2 separate regions of the Homo sapiens genome follow, and region 2 is linked to region 1. The links are contacts of gene promoters, found by promoter capture Hi-C in blood cells and fetal thymus (Javierre and others, 2016). All regions are on one chromosome and are shown on one strand. The core of a region is centred on a gene start or on the middle of the fragment in contact, and the rest is flanking DNA. Distances in the headings are between cores, read along the strand shown.

Region 1 (7,395 bases), core at 1,899-4,398:
TGAACAAAATGTGTTATACGCATATGGTGGAATATTGTTCAGTTTCAAAAAAGGAAGGAAGCCCTTTCATATGCTACAATGAGGATATTACGCTAAATGAAATAAGTCACAAAAAGACAAATATTTACAATTCCACTTATATAAGGTACCTAGAATAGTAGAATTCATAGAGACAGAATGTAGAGCTGTCCTAACCAGGGCCTGGAGAAGAGGGGAAATGGGAACTTGCAGCGTAATAGGAATAGAGTTTCAGTCTTGCAAGACAGAAGAGTTTTGAAGATTGCTTGCACAACAATGTGAACACACTTAACACCACTGAACTGTACACTTAAAAATGGTAAAGATGGTAAACCTTATGTTATGTGTATTTTAACAGAATTTTTTTTAAGTCCACATAAAACGAATGGGAGTTTGGGGAAAGGATATGGTGAAAGGATTGAGGATAAACAATTTTTAAATAGATAAAATGGTAAAAAACAGTGGAAGGGTGAACAGAAAAGACATATTAAAAAAAAAAACAACACCACCCACAACTCACCGGCGCCTCATATACCATAATGCAAGGCATAGCAAAAGGAGCAAGGAAGGCACTATTATTGCCAAAACAATTGAGCCAATGGAGGTGGGGTTTCCTGGCAATTGAGAGAGGACAAAAGGATGTCACTTCAGATACTATACACAGAATTCCTTGGCCTTCCTTTGCCCACCTACTTCCAATGTATGGTCATTTCCAACTTCCTCTCTCATATTCCTGGCCACCATATATCCATCCTTTGATCCCCTCTACCCAGTTTACAGGTCCTTAATTCCTACATTTTTGATAACTTGGATTATCTATTTTTACTCCTGTTGGGATTGGGGTCAGGGAAATCAATCAATCAATCTCTCCCTCTTTCATCTCTCAAGCTCTATCCTTCCCCAGTGCCTCCCTCTATGCCTGAAGATCACTTCCTGGCATTTCCAGCCTGGGTCCCTGCTATTTCTTACTCCAGTAGAGGATGATGTCCTGGCCCTCTAAACTGCTGTGCTTCACCCGACAGGACAGGCCAGCCGCCTCCCCATCTGCCACATCCAGGGTTGCTCGGAGATACCATGTCCAGTTAGCATTGGGCAGGATGTCCCCTAGCTGAGTGCCCTGCTGCTCCTGCTCACCCCGCATCCACATCACCCACACGGGCTTTGGGTAGAATCCTGAGACATGGCACACAAGCTGCAGACGGCCAGGTCCAGGACTGGGGCCACTGGACAGCCAGGCCTCAGGCTTCACTAAGGCAGGAAGGAGAAAAAAAAGTGTCATGTTATAACTCGAGTTCAGAGGTTATGAACTCAGAAACCTACAAGCTTGGACAGCGACCCCATTCACTCCTTTGGGAACCAAATAACTTGTTATTTAAGCTCCTATCCTTTGATATCTTCCTACTCTTGATCTTAGAGGAGGTGGTGGGAAGTGAAATAACAGCAGGACTAACCTTGTCTTTGCAGATCTGCTTTTCCTGCATTGAGGACGCCCAAGAGATATCGGGGGCAGGTTTCATAGAGGAGAATTCTCACAGTTTCCATGATACCTTGATATTGTATGATTAGTGCACAGAATTTCTGTGCCCTGCTGCCACCTTCTGGGGAAGGCACACATGAAGCATTCTTGACACTCAGGAAATCCAATCCTCCTAGAGCTCCCCTCAGGAAGCTTACTATGGCACCTCCAGAATGTAGCTCACAGCCTGCTATGCCCTGGATCTCAAAGGGGTCTATGTAGAGGGAAAAGAGAGCAAGTTATTAAACACAAATAAGAAAAAAAGGCATGAGAAAAGAACCTAGGATTTTAGATTTTGGTGGGGATAAAGTTATTTGGTGTAAAATGATGATGAGCTAAAAACTAATGATAACATTTAGACATTTTCAGAAACAAGAGCATTGAGAAAAATGTGCATGCCATGAAGACAAAGGTATGTGATAAAGGAGTACAGTGAGTATGAAAGGAGAGGTGAGGCAGAGCGTGGTGCAGTCAGGAGTGCAGCATTCCAGAGTGAGTGGAGGTTCCCAGCAAGAGGAGGGTGCGGGGAGGAGATGATTGAAAAGATGGATTAGGGGAGAAAGCCACACGTTAGATCACTCAGGCACAGGGTAGGAGAAGTAAGGGCCCTTGAGGAGAAGTTTCACATAAGACAAACCAGCAGCTGGTTACAAAGTGGAAGACAGTCTGAGAGTAAGAGAAGAGTGCAGAGGCAGCAAGAATCTGAAATATGAGGTGTGATGGTGTGAAGCTGGAGTGAGAGACTACTCAAGAAAAGCATGTGCGTGCATTTGGGTAAAATAGAAAGGAAGGGAGAAGCATCAGAGAGAGCAACACTTTGCAAAAAAGAGAGAAAAGAGAGTCCTTGAGACTCTTCCCAGTTCGGTGGACTAGACTCACATTTCATCTGGAAATCACCGGCAAAGTCTTGTACTTCTCGAGCGAATCCAAAGATGTAGACTCGGAATATCTCCTCTAACTCAGCAACCTCCTTATCACTAAAGTTACCTTTAGACCAAGGCTTCAGGAATATGGCAGTGCCTGAGTCGCTATCCCAGCCATGAATCTGCAAATCATCCAACCAGCCTGAGCCTTGAGTTTGTGCCCAGGTACTATTGGTAAAGGACGAGGTCTGGATAACATGAAAGGAGGTCGGCCCCTGGAAGGCTGTGAAGAGTGGAAAAGCAAGATGGTGAAGATAAAGAGAGAAGCAGGAGACAATTAGGAAGAATGGGAATGAAAATGATTTAGAAAACAAGAACCTAGAGTCTAAAGAACACAGGAAGTCTGACACATTTGACTGCCTTAAGGCTTCAGGTTCTAGTCCCAACCACCAGAATGGTTGAAGAGGGCGGGAGACAGAAAGACCCAGACCCTTAGTGTCCAATTGCACCTAGGAAAGCCCTGCTTGCTTTTTAAAATCCAAACCCCTGCACCAGTGCTGGGAGCTGCCAGAGTGACTCTTACCATGTTCACTGTTACCACCAGGAAAGAGAACAGCTAACAGTTGAAATGGCAGCAGCAGCATTTCACTGGGAGATGCAACTTCTTACTGGCAGAGCTGGTATTTGATCTCCAATTTCAGCAAAGCTTTTCCTCAGTACCCTGTAGTGACTTCTTCTCTCTTCCAACTGCCAAATCTCTTCCTCATCCAAACTGCTTTTCAGAGAAAAATGTGCCTCCCACAGCCCTGAGCCTCTTACCTCACCTTTTATTTCCCTCAAGCCCTGATTTTTAGAGTTTCTCTTACCCCCTGACTTCCAGCCGCTCTCCCTGTCCTCACCTTCCTTCATACCTCCTTGGAAAAGCCCCCATATGATTCTGCATTTTCATTTCTCCTTCCTTAGCCTTTATTCCCACATCTATAGGATAAGATGGTGATATTAAGCAATTGCTAAGCTTTTAGTCTGCTTTAACCCAGAAGGATGCTTTTAGTTTATCCACCTCACTTAGTTTCTCCCCCTCCCAGCTGCCTTATCTTCTCTGGCACTCTGTTACTGCCTCTTCCCAATGTTTTCAATGTCTTCTCTTTCTTATATTGCCCTCTTTGTCTGGTGTTCCTTACCCCACATTCTAAACTGGCTGTGAGTGTGTGTGTGTGTGTGTCTGTGTCTGTGTGTGTATGTGTATGTGTGTGTACCGATATTCACTTACATAAAGGCAAAGCATTTAAAACATTTCCTGTACTATAGCACTACAAACCAAAATGCCAGAATCAAATATAATAAAGACTGAAGTTTATAATTCAAACAAAATTATACTATAGCAATATTTGAGGGAAAAAATGACAATTGCTGCTAGCATGTGACCTTCTCTTCAGGAGCTCTTGGCCTATGGAGTTTTGAGTAACAAATATTCATGACATAAACAGAACTCTAGGAGCTATGCTATGTGCACCTCCAGCCTAAGTCAAAGATAACTTTTTGGGTAAGTTGCCATAAGCGGCAGAGCTTTTTTCTTCTCTTGTAATATCTCATAACTGCTGTCTACATTTGGGCATTCATATCACCACATGTGGTATTAATAATAGAGCAAAGAGGTTGCTTTTTTTTATACAAAAAGTTCAGAGATACTTGTTTTAAGATGTCACCTCCTATCTTCTTGTATGCCCATGAAAAATTTTAAGAAGAATTTTTGGATTTTCTCCATTTAGGAAAAAAATCACATATTTGCAGAGATCTATGTATCATGCAGAAATGTGGCAGCAATCGATTCCGAGTAAAGAGGGTTATCACTAACTAATTCTATTATGTGGATAAGAAAATGCAAAGTGAGTAGTGTAGTGTTCTCTATTCCTGGGGACACTACTGGTTCACAACATTAATAAGACTGGTTCACAACATTAATAAGACTAGCCTTCATCCAAGATTATTACTGCCTAATTGATAAATACAGAGCAGCTCTCCAAATTTCAATGTATGTATCTCTTAACAACATTCCCAGACTCCAATACATGACAGAATTGAATCTACTTTTTGGATAACAGCCATAGACAACAGCAGAGACTTAACATTGGCTGTCACAGACATGAACATTACTATTTTTGTGTTTATACGTTTTTTATTTTGGGTAGAACACCCAAAACAGAGCTCAGGAAAAGCTGGTAGACAACCTGGGCTATTTTCCATTAAAATAAGTGAGTTCTTGCAAGACTCCCAAAGTTGAATTGCTACAAACTAAATCTGAAATGTTCCTCATTTTAAAAAATAATCCAAAAGAGTTGGCAGGGCACAGGAGACTATCACAACACTAGCCCCACACTCATCAAACTTTTTTTTTTCTTGAGACAGAGTCTTGCTCTGTTGCCCAGGCTGGAGTGCAGTGGCATGATCTCGGCTCACTGCAGCCTCTGCCTCTTGGGTTCAAGTGATTCTCCTGCCTCAGCCTCCTAAGTAGCTGGAACTGTAGGCATGTGCCACTATGCCCAGCTAATGTTTGTATTTTTAGTAGAGACTGTGTTTCACCATGTTGGCCAGGATGGTCTTGATCTCCTGACCTTGTGATCTGCCCACCTCAGCCTCCCAAAGTGCCAGGATTACAGGCATGATCCACCACGCCCGGCCACTCATCAAATTTTTAAACAAGTTAGGCCTAAAACATGAGAACAGTAATCCAGTCAAAATTATGTTACCAGAAAGGAATATTAGTATTGCCAAAGACTGAGTTAGAAATTGAGTTGTGCCTGAGAGATGGAAGATAGAGGAAGAGGTCTTGGTTTCAGTTTCAACAGCGTGTAAGTTTTTGCCAAATATGTGCAGAATGTCTACCTAAATAACAAACAGAAAAAGAGGCTCTCTAAAAGAAAAAGATATTTATTTGAGAATAGAGCATTGCAATGGGAATATATATGCAATAGTAAACGATGTGCATACTCAGGGAGGTAAAGGAAGGCAAATTTTTTAAAGAAAAAAAATTAAGAGAATTACATATTTGTTTTGAAATAATTATCCTTGCCTACAAATATCAATAACAACGGTGACACCAGTCAGAGGTTAAACAGACAGTTGCTGGCAGGGCAGATGTCTTTGAGGCATTTTTCATGTAAGGTTGTGATGGCCTTTTCAAGGTTGTGGTTTTTGCAGAGTCTTTCGTGGTAGTTGTTCTTATTAGGTATACAAGTGTGAGAACCCTCTCTGCATAGTCTTCCCTAGCTCTGCCAGTTTTTTTTTTTTTTCCTTAGTGACTCCGTTTTGTTTCTGGCAACATTTGCAAGAAGATGACTGTAAATTTAAATTTAGTTAGGAAAATCGCCAGACAAAATGAAAATTTTGTAATTCTTCAAATGTCATATTTGAGGGAAAAATTTACTTTATACACTGTCTTTTCCCTGAAAAGTGGAGCAATTGAGATAGTTTGAAAGGTCTAGAAATTAACCAGGTTTTCAAGTTACATTCTTTCTCACATATCATATCCAGTATTTCATATTTCCTTTCTGTTTCAAAAGTACAGAAATGGACATGGCAGTGTCCACAGTGTCCACATAGCAATGTCACACATTTCCATACTACACTGTGACTATGCTTGTCCAGCTCTATGGCATGGTTTGTATTTCCACTCTGCATTAGTACCATTGTTGCTTGACATATGAAACCTGTCTTCTAGGGAAAGATTATCCCTAGTCCCAATATTTGTTTCAAATTAAAAAATCAACATGTGCACACTTCTAAATCGAAGCTTTAATTGATGCTTCTAACTCATACTCTCCTATGGGCCTAAAGACCATGTACACTTCTGATAAGCTCATCAAGACACAGGTTTTCTCAGATATTGATTGCATAATCTCACTTATATGTGGAATCTTAAAAGAGTTGAGTACACAGAAATAGAGAATAAAACAGTGATTACCAGGGGCAGGAAGCAGGTGGTGGTGGGAGGAAATGAGGAGATGTAGGTCAAAGAATACAAAGTAGCCGATGAGTAGTCCCTTCTGAATTGCAGAGGATACATTCCAAGACTTCTGGTGGATGCCCAAAACCACAAATAGTGCTGAACCTGATTGCTGCCAATTGGAGCCCCTTTCTGTTCATGTCCTCCACCCACAAATTTGATGGCTTTTTAAGATCTTAACTAAGCACTTACCACACACTCTGATCATAACCTTTGCAATTTGAGGTGTGATGGTAAAATTTGTACAATTCCCTTTTCCCCATCACAATTTTATGGAAAGAAGATTCCTTTTTACTGTAGAACATAGCAACATCAGCATATTTTGTTTCTTTCCTTATTAAGTCAAAAACTTAACACCTTTTCATTTAAAGGAAGCACTTAATGGCTTCTCTTTGGCATATTTGAATTACAAGCATCACTACTTCTGTGCTTTGGGGCTGTTATTAAGTAAAATAAGGGTTACTTGAACACAAGCACTGGAGACCAGGACAGCTGATCTGATAACTGAGCCAGCTACTAAGTGACTAAGGGTTGGGTAGCATATACAGTGGAGATATGATAATTAAGGGGTGATTTGCATCCTTGTCCAGATGAAGTAGGCTGGCCTGAAATTTCATCATACTACTTAGAATGGTGCACAATTGAAAACTTATAGATTATTTATTTCTGGAATTGCCCATTTAATATTTTCAGACTGCCATTGACCATGGGTAACTAAAACTGTGGAAAACAAAACCATGAATTAAGGAGGGGTCTACTGTATATTATAAATAAAAAAATATTTTGACCTTGCTACCAGTATCCATGTTAAATTAACTTATTACATTTAATATTTTATCTATAGATCCTTTTGGATTTTCTAATGATATCTCTAAATATGAAAGTTTCATTAGATTTTTTTCAATTGTTATACCTTTTATTATATTTTTTGCCCATTTTCCCTGGCCTATGACCTCCAGTAAAATGATAAATAGAATTATTGATAGCTACTTTTT
Region 2 (7,125 bases), core at 136-2,635, 35 kb before region 1:
ATATATAAAATTAAACTTATTTTTGGGAGAAGAGACAAGATGGCTGACTAGATGCAGCCAGGAAGAGCTTCTCCCACCAAGAGACAAGACCATCAAGAAGAGCAGTATACTCTGAGAAGATCATTGGAAAGAAGGCATTGAGAGTGGATGGAGGGAGAATGCAGACCCTGGGCTGAAGGGGGGAAGAAGCTGCGAACCCTACACAGGGTTGCCAAACACTAGGACTTATTCTTGGTCCTCAGTGGCTTCTAGGGAAGGGGTTGGTTAAATAGGCATGAAGTGGCCCACTCTATCCATGAACCTCTGGAATCCTAGCTGCAGGAGACCCCCACGACCCACACAGACATTTGAGTTGGCAGGGAAAGCTACTTGCAGAGTTGGCAGGGACAGGACTCCAGCTTCTATGGAACCCAGAGGGTTTGGTGTGAGAACAGCTACAGTGGAGCATGGTTAGGGATGTCCATTACCCGAGGATTGGCATGCTCCTCTAGGTGGCTTTGACCCCTTTGTTGACTATCAGACCTGGACAGAATAGGGCTACCATGATATTTGGATGGGGCTAGACTGATCTGAGCCCCCCACCCCATGTCTGCTGGCCTCTCCCAGGATCCCTGCCTGTCTGTACCTGCTTGCAGCACAGCCTCAGATGTTCAACTGAGGCAGTTCTCAGAGACCACTGCCATAGGTCTTTCACTGGCTGACCCCACCAAACCACCAAATAGCTTCTGTCACTGGCCTCACATCAGCATGCACCTGCCTTCAGCACCCACAACTGCTTTGCTGGCATACATACACAGACATCACTGCCTTGCTACCACTTCTGTGCACATATGCATGGAGACCTCACCACTGCTGCACTGTCCCCACTAGCCTACATGCGTGCATGTACCCTGCCACACTACCATCCCTGGTGTACATGTGCATGGACCTTCTACCCTGCTGCCCCACCACCACCAGCATGTGAGTGAGTGTGGACCCCACCATGCCACTGCCCCACTGCTGCCAGTACATGCATGTGAGAGCAGACCCCCACCGCCACTGCCCTTATGAAATGCTTTTCTGGGACCCCCCCACCCTGCCCACCATAGGAGTGTTGTTGCTAGTGGACTGGGAGCACCTTGGCCCCCTCCAGTGAAGCAGGTGCTCAGTCTCAAGGGGCCAAAGAACAAGGTTCTGGGCCTGGTCCCAGGCCCTCAGTCTTAGAGCATATAGCCCAGGAGTGCTGAGCTGAGCCATGGCCCCCTGAAATCATCAAGAAATAAAGCTAGCTCACTGACCCAAACCTATACCATAGTCAAAGCCTCAAGGGCATCAAAGAATATAAAAGCAAAAGGCCCCATCAAAAGGACAGCAACTTTAAACGTTTAAGGAACATCAGCCCACATAGATGAGAAAGAACCCGTGGAAGAACTCAGGCAGCTCTAAAAGTCAGAGTGTCTTCTTACTTCCAAATGAACACACTAGCTCCCCAACAATCTTTCCTAACCAGACTAAAATGGCTGAGATAATAGACATAGATTTTAGAATCTGGATGGCAATGAAAATCATGAGATTCAGGAGAAAGTTGAAATGGAATCCAAAGAATTTAAGGAATCCAGTAAAATAATACAATAACTGAAAGACAAAATAGCCATTTTAAGAAAGAACTAAGCTGATTTGACAGAGCTAAAAAATTCACTAAAGAATTTTATAATACAATTGGAAGTATTAAAGGCAGAATAGACCACACTGAGGGAAGAATCTCAGAGCTCAAAGACCAGTTCTTCTAATTAACTCAGTCACACAAAATAAAGAAAAAATAATACAGAAGGATGAACAAAATCTCTGAGAAATATGAGGTTATGTAAAGAGACCAAACCTGTACTCACTGATGTCCCTGAAAGAGAGAGAGAGAGAGTGTGCAAACAATTGAAAACATATATGAGGATATTGTCCATGACAATTTTCTCAACTTCACTATAGAGGTCAACATTCAAATTCAAGAAATTCAGAGAACTCCTGAGAGATACTACACTAGAAAACCATCCTCAAGATACACAATAATAAGATTATCCAAGGTCAATGTGAAAGAAAAAAATACTAAAGGCAACCAGAGAGGAGGAGCAGGTCACCTACAAAGGGACCCCAATCAAGCTAACAGCATACCTTTCAGCAGAAACCTTAGAAGCCAGAAGACATTGAGGGCCTATATTCAGCATTGTTAAAGAAAAGAAATTCTGACCCAAAATTTCATATCCAGCCCAAGTAAGATTTATATGTTAAAGAGAAATTCAGCAAAGCAAATGCTAAGGAAATTTATTACCACCAGACCTGCCTTATAAGAAGTCATTAAGGGAGTGCTAAACATGGAAATAAAAGACTCTTACCAGCCACCACATAAATGCACTTAAGTAAACAGACCAGTGACACTATAAAGGAACTACACAATTAAGTCTACATAACAACCAGCTAACAATAATGACAAAATCAACTTCTCACTTATCAATATTTACCTTGAAGGTAAATGAGCTAAACACCCCAAGACACAGAGTGGCAAGTTGAATAAAGAAACAAGACCCTGGCTCATGCCTGTAATCCTAACACTTTGAGGCTAAGGCAGGCCGATTGCTTGATCCTATGAGTTTGAGACCAACCTAGGCAACATGGAAAAACCCCATTTCTACAAAAAAACCAAGAAAATTAGCTAAGAATGGTGGCACATGCCTGTAGTCCCAGCTACTGAGGAGGCTGAGGTAGGAGGATCACCCAAGCCTGGGGAGGTGGAGGCTGCAGTAAGTTGTGATCATGCCACTGCACTTCGGCCTAAGTAACAGAGTGAGACCCTGTCTCACGTTAAAAAAGACAAAAAAAAAAAAAATAAACAAGACCCACCTGTAAGTTATCTTCAAGAGACCCATCTCACATGCAAGGACACCCATAGGCCAAAACTAAAGGATGGCAAAAAATCTGTCAAGCATACAGGAAAGAAAAAAGAGCAGGGGTTGCTATTTTTATTTCAGACAAAATAAACTTTAAACCAACAACTGTCAAAAAGGACATAGAAAAACATTATTTAATGATAGAGGGTTGAATTTAATAAGAAGACTTAGCTATCCTCAATATATATGCACCCAACACAGGAGCACACAGGTTCATAAAACAAGTACTTAGAGACCCACAAAGAAGCTTATGTTATCATACAATAATGGTGGTAGACTTCAACACCCAACTGACAGCATTAGATAGATCATCAAGAGAGAACACTGATAAAGGTATTTGGAACTTAAACTCGACACTTGACCAAATGGACCTAATAAACATTGACAGAACGCTCCACCCAAAACCAAAAGAATATACATTCTTCCCATGCCTCCAGCTTTGTTCCTTTTGCTTAGGATTGTCTTGGCAATGTGGGCTCTTTTTGATTTCATATGAAAGATCAGGTAGTTTTTCCAATTCTGTGAAGAAAGTCATTGGTAGCTTGATAGGGATGGCATTGAATTTATAAATTACTTTGGGCAGTATGGCCATTTTCACGATATTGATTCTTCCTATCGATGAGCATGGAATGTTCTTCCATTTGTTTGTGTCCTCTTTTATTTCATTGAGCAGTGGTTTGTAGTTCTCCTTGAAGAGGTCCTTCACATCCCTTGTAAGTTGGATTCCTAGGTATTTTATTCTCTTTGAAGCGATTGTGAATGGGAGTTCACTCATGATTTGGCTCTCTGTTTGTCTGTTATTGGTGTGTAGGAAAGCTTGCGATTTTTGCACGTTGATTTTGTATCCTGAGACTTTGCTGAAGTTGCTTATCAGTTTAAAGAGATTTTGGGCTGAGGTGATGGGGTTTTCTAAATATACAATCATGTCATCTGCAAACAGGGACAATTTGACTTCCTCTGTTCCTAATTAAATACCCTTTATTTCTTTCTCTTGCCTGATTGCCCTGGCCAGACTTCCAATACTATGTTGAATAGGAGTGGTGAGAGAGGGCATCCTTGTCTTGTGCCAGTTTTCAAAGGGAATGCTTCCAGTTTTGCCCATTCAGTATGATATTGGCTGTGGGTTTGTCATAAATAGGTCTTAGTATTTTGAGATATGTTCCATCAATATCTAGTGTATTGGGAGTTTTTTAGCATGAACAGCTGTTGAATTTTGTCAAAGGCCTTTTCTGCATCTATTGAGATAATGATGTGGTTTTTTTCTTTAGTTCTGTTTATGTGATGGATTACATTTATTGATTTGCATATGTTGAACCAGCCTTGCATCCCAGGGATGAAGCTGATTTGATCATGGTGGATAAGCTTTTTGATGTGCTGCTGGATTTTGTTTGCCAGTATTTTACTGAGGATTTTGCATCAGTGTTCATCGGGGACATTGGTCTAAAACTCTCAGCATCAGGATTATGCTGGCCTCAAAAAATGAGTAAGGGAGGATTCCCTCTTTTTCTATTGATTGGAATAGTTTCAGAAGGAATGGTACCAGCTCCTCTTTGTACCTTTAGTAGAATTTGTCTGTGAATCCATCTGGTCCTGGACTTTTTTTGGTTGGCAGGCTATTAATTATTGCCTCAATTTCAGAGCCTGTTATTGGTCTATTCAGAGATTCAACTTCTTCCTGGTTTACTCTTGGGAGGGTGTGTGTGTCGAGGAATTTATCCATTTCTTCTAGATTTTCTAGTTTATTTGCACAGAGATGTTTATATTATCCTCTGATGGTAGTTTGTATTTTTGTGGGATCAGTGGTGATATCCCCTTTATCATTTTTTATTGTGTCTATATGATTCTTCTCTCTTTTCTTCTTTATTAGTCTTGCTAGTGGTCTATCAATTTTGCTGATCTTTTCAAAAAGCCAGGTCCTGGATTCATTGATCTTTTGAAGATTTTTTTTGTGTCTTTATCTCATTCAGGTCTGCTCTGATCTTAGTTATTTCTTGTCTTCGGCTAGCTTTTGAATATGTTTGCTCTTGCTTCTCTAGTTCTTTTAATGTGATGTTAGGTGTCAATTTTAGATCTTTCCTGCTTTATCTTGTGGGCATTTAGTGCTATAAATTTCCCTCTACACACTGCTTTACATGTGTCCCAGAGATTCTGGTACATTGTGTCTTTGTTCTCATTGGTTTCCTAGAGCATCTTTATTTCTGCCTTCATTTTGTTATTTACCAAGTAGTCATTCAGGACTACAGTTTCCATGTAGTTGTGTGGTTTTGAGTGAGTTTCTTAATCCTGAGTTCTAATTTGATTGCACTGTGGTCCGAGAGACAGTTTGTTGTGATTTCTTTTCTTTTTACATTTGCTGAGGAGTGCTTTACTTCCAATTTTGTGGTCAATTTTAGAATAAGTATGATGTGGTGCTGAGAAGAATATATACTCTGTTGATTTGGGGTAGAGAGTACCGTAGATGTCTATTAGGTCTGCTTGGTGCAGAGCTGAGTTCAAGTCCTGGATATCCTTGTTAACCTTCTGTCTTGTTGATCTGCCTAATATTGACAATGGAATGTTAAAGTCTCCCATTATTATTGTGTGGGAGTATAAGTCTCTTCGTAGGTCTGTAAGGACTCATTATATGAATCTGGGTGCTCCTGTTTTGGGTGCATATATATTTAGGATAGTTAGCTCTTCTTTTTGAATTGATTCCTTTACCATTATGTAATGGCCTTCTTTGTCTCTCTCTCTCTCTTTTTTTTTTTTTTTTGAGACAGAGTCTCACTCTGTCACCCAGGCTGGAGTACAGTGGTGCGATCTCAGCTCACTGCAAGCTCTTCCTCCTGTGTTCATACCATTCTCCTGCTTGAGCCTCCTGAGTAGCTGGGACTACAGGTGCCCACCACCATGCCCAGCTAATTTTTTGTATTTTTAATATAGATGGGGTTTCACCATATTAGCCAGGATGGTCTCAATTGCCTGACTTCATGATCTGCCCACCTCAGCCTCCCAAATTGCTGGAATTACAGGTGTGAGCCACCGTGCCTTTGTCTCTTTTGATCTTTATTGGTTAAAGTCTGTTTTATCAGAGACTGGGATTGCAACCCCTGCTTTTTTTTTGCTTTCCATTTGCTTGGTAGAGTGTCCTCCATCCCTTTATTTTGAGCCTATGTGTGTCTCTGCACTTGAGATGGGTCTCCTGAATACAGCACACTGATGGGTCTTGACTCTTTATCCAATTTGTCAGTCTGTGTCTTTTAATTGTCATATTTAGCTCATTTATATTTAAGGTTAATATTAAGTGTGAATTTGATTCTGTCTTTATGATGTTAGCTGGTTATTTTGCTCATTAGTTTATGCAGTTTCTTCATAGCATCAATGGTCTTTACAATTTGGCATGTTTTTGGAGTGTCTGGTACTGGTTGTTTCTTTCCATGTTTAGTGCTTCCTTCAGGAGCTCTTGTAAGGCAGGTCTGGTGGTGACAAAATCTCTTAGCATTTGCTTGTCTGTAAAGGATTTTATTTCTCCTTCACTTATGATGCTTAGTTTGGGTGGATATGAAATTCTCGGTTGAAAATTCTTTTCTTTAAGAATGTTGAATATTGGCCCCCACTCTCTTCTGGCTGGTAGTGTTTCTGCAGAGAAATCAGCTGTTAGTCTCATGGGCTTCCCTTTGTGGAACCCGACTTTTCTTTCTGGCTGCCCTTAACGTTTTTCCTTCATTTCAACCTTCGTGAGTCTGATAATTATGTGTCTTGGGGTTGCTCTTCTCATGGAGTATCTTTGTGGTGTTCTCTGTATTTCCTGAATTTGAATGTTGGCCTGCCTTGCTAGGTTGGGGATGTTCTCCTGGATAACATCATGAGCAGTGTTTTCCAGCTTGGTTCCATTCTCCCTGTCACTTTCAGGTACACAAATCAAACATAGATTTTTTTCTTTTCACATAGTACCATATATGCAGAATACACCTGTCTTCTGCATCAATCAAGCTGGTAGTTGCAGACCGGAGCTCTTCCTATTCAGCCATCTTGGGGGAAGTCGCAATTTTCAACACATTCAAAAAAACCAAAATCATACCAACCACACTCTTGCACCACAGCACAACAAAAATAGAAATCAAGATCAAGAAGAGCTCTGAAAAACTATACAATTAAATAGCAATTAAACAATTTCTGGTCCTGAAAGACTTTTGGGTAAACAACGAAGTCAGAAATCAGGAAATTG

The links. The method cuts DNA at HindIII sites, captures the fragments that hold promoters and counts their contacts. A CHiCAGO score of 5 or more calls a contact.
Region 2: a fragment that was not itself captured here is called in contact with the fragment with the promoter of CD1B in region 1 in 1 of 17 cell types (fetal thymus); the score reaches 7.9 in fetal thymus.

What each region holds. Positions count from the first base shown.
Region 1 is chr1:158,328,383-158,335,777 of GRCh38, forward strand. It overlaps CD1B (CD1b molecule), which reads right to left and starts at 3,149. Exons shown (of 6, transcript NM_001764.3): 1 at 2,981-3,149; 2 at 2,414-2,680; 3 at 1,470-1,748; 4 at 988-1,266; 5 at 539-632. The coding sequence starts at 3,041. The HindIII fragment of the contact is 309 bases long and covers 3,102-3,410 here.
Region 2 is chr1:158,295,107-158,302,231 of GRCh38, forward strand. It overlaps a transcript of CD1B not described here. Among named protein-coding and RNA genes, the nearest start is that of CD1C, 8.7 kb to the left of the region's middle. The HindIII fragment of the contact is 3,555 bases long and covers 1-3,163 here.